2 separate regions of the Homo sapiens genome follow, and region 2 is linked to region 1. Evidence: promoter capture Hi-C in human tissues and cell types (Jung and others, 2019). All regions are on one chromosome and are shown on one strand. The core of a region is centred on a gene start or on the middle of the fragment in contact, and the rest is flanking DNA. Distances in the headings are between cores, read along the strand shown.

The links. The method cuts DNA at HindIII sites, captures the fragments that hold promoters and counts their contacts. A contact is called where the count stands out against the background at its distance.
Region 2: a fragment that was not itself captured here is called in contact with the fragment with the promoter of SMKR1 in region 1 in 2 of the 25 tissues and cell types used here (liver and mesenchymal stem cells).

The regions. Positions count from the first base shown.
Region 1 is chr7:129,501,148-129,504,067 of GRCh38, forward strand. SMKR1 (small lysine rich protein 1) reads left to right here and starts at 1,384. Exons shown (of 2, transcript NM_001195243.2): 1 at 1,384-1,680. The coding sequence starts at 1,678. RefSeq lists silencers at 1,083-1,132, 1,193-1,532. The HindIII fragment of the contact is 29,122 bases long and covers 1-2,920 here.
Region 2 is chr7:129,563,307-129,566,226 of GRCh38, forward strand. No RefSeq gene overlaps it. Among named protein-coding and RNA genes, the nearest start is that of NRF1, 47 kb to the right of the region's middle. The HindIII fragment of the contact is 7,858 bases long and covers 1-2,920 here.

The sequences.
Region 1 (2,920 bases), core at 134-2,633:
ATATGTAAGAGAACCTAGAACATAAACAGTCCTCTTTGGAAGCCAGTTTGTCTTTCAAGAGAAAGCAAACAAAACACCACATCCTTGCAGAGCCTTCCAGGACCCTACTCCTGCTTCTTGGTCTAGCCTCCTCCCCCTGTCCCTAATTTTGGCATAATTGACTGCTCCTTGTCATCCAGATCTGTTTTAACGTCACCTCCTCAGAGAGGCCTTCCCCAGTCACCAATCTAAAAGAGCACCCAGTGGTCACATCAATTTAATGCAATATGCCATACTGTCCCTATCACTTTTAATGTCTGCCAGGCCCTCCATTTCAGCCACGACCACCTCCCCCAAATCACCCCTTAAAAGAACAAGGACTTTGCCTCATTCAGAGCTCAATTTCCAGGGCCTGGAAGAGTGTCAGGCACGTGGCAGATGCTCAATAACTGTTGAATAAAAAGGAATGATAGGCCGGGCAGTGGCTCACGTCTGTAATCCCAGCACTTTGGGAGGCTGAGGCGGGCAGATCACCTGAGGTCAGAAGTTCGAGACCAGCGTGACCAACATGGCGAAACCCCATCTCTACTAAAAATACAAAAATTAGCCGGGCATAGTGGTACGCATCTGTAATCCCAGCTACTCAAGAGGCTGAGGCAGGAGAATGGTTTAAACTTGGGAGGCGGAGGTTGCAGTGAACCGAGATGGCGCCACTGCACTCCAACCTGGGCGACAGAGAGAGACTCGGTCTCAAAAAAAAAAAAAAGGAATGACCAGTCATAAAAAAGAATGAGTCGTACCACCCGAAGTGTAGACTTCACCTGCAGGGAGGGAGGCTGGAACTGGCAAGGTTGGAGGCAAAACTGTACCTACTGTACCTTTCTCGCCCAATCCTACCTGCACATGAACTCCCTCCCCACCCCTTTAGTCTCTCGGGCCCTTACTCTCTTTATCCGGCTCTTTTGCAAACATTTCCCATGATATTCTCCCTTCACCGTCACAGTCCTTATGCTCGTTTCCCAAAAGAGCTTCTCCGATGATCTCTCCCAGGTTGGCCGAGTGAGCGGGCCTAGCCTGCGCTCTCACCCCAGTGCCACCCCAGTGGGAGCGCCGCCCGCGCCCGCCCCCTCGCCCCGCGCCCGCCCCCTCGCCCCGCGCCCGCCCCCTCGCCCCGCGCCCGCCGCTCCGGCAGCCCAAACCCAGACGCTAAAGCGCCGAACTGGGTTTCCGGGCGCTGGAGGCCGCGGTCGGCCTCGTACTAGGTGACGGCCCATCCCGCGCGCGCAAGCCCGGAACCCCGCTCCGCTCACCCTCCGCGCGCTGCCGCTTTGCCCTGGCAACGGTAACCACGGCGAGGCCCTGCCCCACGCCCGGTGATTGTGCGCGCGGCCCCGCCCCCGAGGCGCACGCCGGCCCAGCGCCCACAGCTGCGGCGGCCTAGGTGCCGCGTGGGGCAAGCAGGTGCCTCGCGTCCAGGCGGCTCCGCGGCTGGCTGCCTCCCGAGCCGGCCGCGCTCCTCCCAGCGAGGCGTGGCGGGGAGGCGTAGTGAGGCTGGGCCCGTGGCGGTTCCCTGAGGAGGGCCGAGAAGGGGCCGGGGGTGCTAGGGGAACGGGCGCTGGGGGCAGCGGCCCCGGTGGATGCTAAGGGCTTCGGGATCGGGAGAGTCCACCACGCCTGCCTGCTCGGCTGAGAATCGCCATGGTAATCCCCGTCTCCCTAAAGTACCCGGGGCCAGGGCGCGCGCCGTGGAGCCCCAGGCTGTCCCGGAGAGGCGCGGGCGCCGAGGTCACCGCCTCTCCCTGGGGTCGACCTCAACGCGTGGCGAAAAGATGGAGGGACAAGGGGTGCCCGGCGGTCCGCGCCTGCTGGGGGCGCAGCAGCCGCGGAGTCAGGCCAGCCGTCTTTCCAGGTTTTAGGTCGTGGTCCTGTTGAGCAGCCCCCACACCCAGACGGTTGATGTGGAAAATAAAGGGAGGGTGGCACCGTGGTGTGGCACGTCAGGGCGCCAGGCCATGCCCACAGTGACGGGTCCGAGCTGTTAGCTGCCGTAGCCACCCTGGGTGCCCGCGCGGGATTCTCCACTGCTCTGCAGACTCAGGAAGCAGAGAGTGAGCCTGGTACCACCACCTTGCTGTCAACAGCATTCCTGTTCTCAGCCCTCATCCAGTCACTTACGACCTCCTTCCAACCCTCGCTGCTCTTTCCAGAAGGGCTGTGACCTTCCAGCCCCTGCCCCAAGTCCTCAGGGAGGCATCATTGTCTGCTAAACTAAGTACTGCACGCTTGAGCTGGGCGCACAGAGCCCTTGCTAAAGGGGCCTCAACCTCGAGCTTTCTCTGCCATATCTTCTCTGCTAAACAACAACAAACAAAACGAACAAAAACCCTGCATCCCACACTAAACCCGCGTTCTTCTGGAAGCCCCTTGCGCCTTCCCTGTCTTGATCCGTTTTCTTTGAGGCTTGGATCAGAAGGACCCTGCCTCCTGCTTCCCCATCGCTCCTTCAGCGCCCACAGCCCTTTGCACCTCACCTCTGGTGCTTTGCCTGTTTTTCCTTGGAAAGCCTTATTCCTCATTAGACTCTAGTGTAGAAATCATTAAGTTTCTGTGTTCTTTCCAGTTTGTTTCGTGTAAAAGGATTAAGTAAAAATTTCTTGGTTTGAGAGTCATTCCATGAGCTATTAAAGGTAAAGAGCTATTACCTTTTTTTTTTTTTTTTTTGACAGGGTCTTACTTTGTCACACAGGCTGGAGTACAGTGGTGTGATCACAGCTGACTGCAGCCTCCATCTCTGAGGCTCAAGTGATCCTCCCGCCTCAGCCTCCCAAGTAGCTCGGACCGTAGGCAGGCATCACCATGCCTGGCTAATCTCTGTATTTTTAGTAGAGACAGGGTTTCGCCATGTTGCCCAGGCTGGTCTCAAACGCCTGGGCTCAAGGGA
Region 2 (2,920 bases), core at 121-2,620, 62 kb after region 1:
GGGGCTTCATCATGTTGGCTAGGCTGGTCTTAAATCCCTGACCTCAGGCAATCCGCCCTCCTCGGCCTCCCAAAGTGCTGGGATTACAGGTGTAAGCCACCATGCCGGCCAAACTTACTATTTTATAGTAGATCAGAAGTCCAACACGGATCTCACTGGGCCATCTAAGTGTTGGCTGGATGTATTCCTTCCAGAGGCTCTAGGAGAGAATCTATCTTCTTGCCTTTTCAGCTTCTAGAAGCTGCCCACTTTACTTGGCTCATGGTCCCTTCCTTCATCTCAGAGCCAGCAGTCTTGGGCCAAGTCCTTCGCAGGCTGCCATTCATCCAGTTCTACCTTTTGTGCCTCCCTCTTGAACTTTTAAGGACTCTTGTGGTTACACTGGACCCATCCAGATAATCCAGGATAGTCTCCCTGTGTTAAAATCGGATGATTAGCAAGCTCAATTCCCCCTTGCCATAACCTAACAAATTCACAGGGTTCTGGGTATTAGAACATAGACATCCTGGGGCAAGGGGCAGTTATCCTGCCTACCACAGGATCTTTGTTTATTTCCAGTGTTCTAAAATTTCAGGAAAATATGCCTTGATGATCGGTGTTTTTTTTTCTTTTTCATTTGTTCACTGTGCTAATTGGTGAGCCTTTCATTCTAGAAACTCATGTTCTTCAGTCCTGGAGGTTTTCTTGCATTTCTTCATTGAAAGCTTCTTCTATTTTCTTTTTTGCTTCCCTACCCTGCCCCCAGAACTCTTATTAGCCAGAAACTACACCTCCTGGTCTGTGTCACTGATTTTGTTATTTGATTCCATACCACCTATTTTCTTTATTTTTTTATTCTACCTTTAATAGAAGAGTTCCACAATTTTATCTTCTATTGAATTTAAAACTTTTGTTATGAACATTTTATTTCCAAAAGCTCTTTCTAAAATAAATAAGCTGGGCACAGGGATGCTTGCCTGTAGTCCTAGCTACTTGGGAAGCTGAAGCAGGAGGATCCCTTAAGCCCAGGAGTTCGAGTCCAGCCTGGGCAACAGAGTGAGACTCCTGTCTCTAAAATAAATAAATCAATAGGCCAGGTGCAGTGGCTCACACCTGTAATCCTAGCACTTTGGGATGCCAAAGTGGGCAGATCACCTGATGTCAGGAGTTCAAGACCAGCCTGGCCAACATGGCAAAACCCCGTCTCTACTAAAAACACAAAAATTGGCTGGGCATCGGAGTGGTTGCCTGTAATCCCAGCTAGGGAGGCTGAGGCAGGAGAATTGCCTAAACCCAGGAGGCAAGGTTGCAGTGAGCTGAGACTGCATCACTGCACTCCACCCTGGGCGACAACGGCAAAACTCCATCTCAAAAAAAAAATTATTTTTATTAAAGACAAGGTTTCACTCTTTTGCCTAGGCTGGTCTCCAACTCCCAACTTCGAGCAATCCTCCCACCTCAGCCTCCCAAAGTGCTGGGATGACAGGCATGAGCCATCACACCTACCCCTTCTTCTCCTCCTTTCTATTTTTACTGTTACTGCCTTAGGTTAGGTTGTCATCCCTCTGTCTTGGACAACTACAAGAATCTCTTAAATGGTTTCCCTGACTCCAATATCATTACCCTCCAATATCTATGCTGGCAACGGAACTGGTATTAAAGTGCAAAAAACCTGATTATTTTGTCTCCTCTTTAAATCCATCAAGAGCTCCTCTGTTGCTTTCAGATTAATTTCCAAAAGGTCTTTAGCATGTCAGTACAGACGGAGGAGAGAAGAGTTGAATTTGGAGGTTTTAGAACGTGGATGATGTCCAGGAGACAGCGTCCAGTTACATCTTAAGAAAACAGTACCCAACATGGCTTCCTTCAGCCACCCACTGATGTCTTTGCATTGCTCCATTTCATAGTCAACTTCTTAAGAAAGGTGCCTCTGCATCATTTCAGCTCTTGTTCATTTCTTAACTTGGGGTAATTTGGCTTCTGTCCCCAAAACACCAGAGAAACTACTCTTCTAAGATCACCACTGAATACTTCTCTTTCTTTCTTTTTTTTTTTTTTTTTTTTTTTTTTGAGACAGAGTCTTGCTCTGTCACCCAGGCTGGAGTGCAGTGGCGCAATCTCGGCTCACTGCAACCTCTGCCTCCTGGGTTCAAGCAATTCTCCTGCCTCATCCTCCCGAGCAGCTGGGACTACAGGTGCGCACCACCACATCCAGCTAATTTTTTGTATTTTTAGTAGAGATGGGGTTTCACCGTGTTAGCCAGGATGATCTTGATCCCCTGACCTTGTGATCCCCCTGCCTTGGCCTCCCAAAGTGCTGGGATTACAGGCGTGAGCCACCGCACCCGGCTGGATACTTTTCTTTACATTTTAAAATGTTTAATTTAGAAATAATTTCAGATTTACAAAAAAGTTGCAAATATACTAAAAAACAAAACCCAAACCCATATATACTTTACCCAGCTCCCCTAAAGTGCATGATATATAACCACGATACAATTAACAAAACCAGGAAATTAACGCTGATACCATTAACTAATCTGTACACCTTAATTTAAATTTTGTCAGTTGTTCCGCTGATGGGACAGATCCAATCCAGGATCACATATTGTGTTAGATTGTGTATTAGTTCATTCTCACGCTGCTAATAAAGACATCCCCGAGACTGGGTGCTTTATAAAGGAAAGAGGTTTCATTGACTCACAGTTCAGCATGGCTGGGGAGGCCTCAGAAAACTTATAGTCGGCCGAGAGCAGTGGCTCATGCCTGTAATCCCAGCACTTTGGGGGCTGAGGCAGGTAGATCACCTGAGGTCAGGAGTTCAAGACCAGCCTGGCCAGCATGGTGAAACCCCATCTCTACTAAAAATACAAAAATTATCTGGGTGTGGTGGCATGCGCCTGTAATCCCAGCTACTCGGGAGGCTGAGGCAAGAGAATAG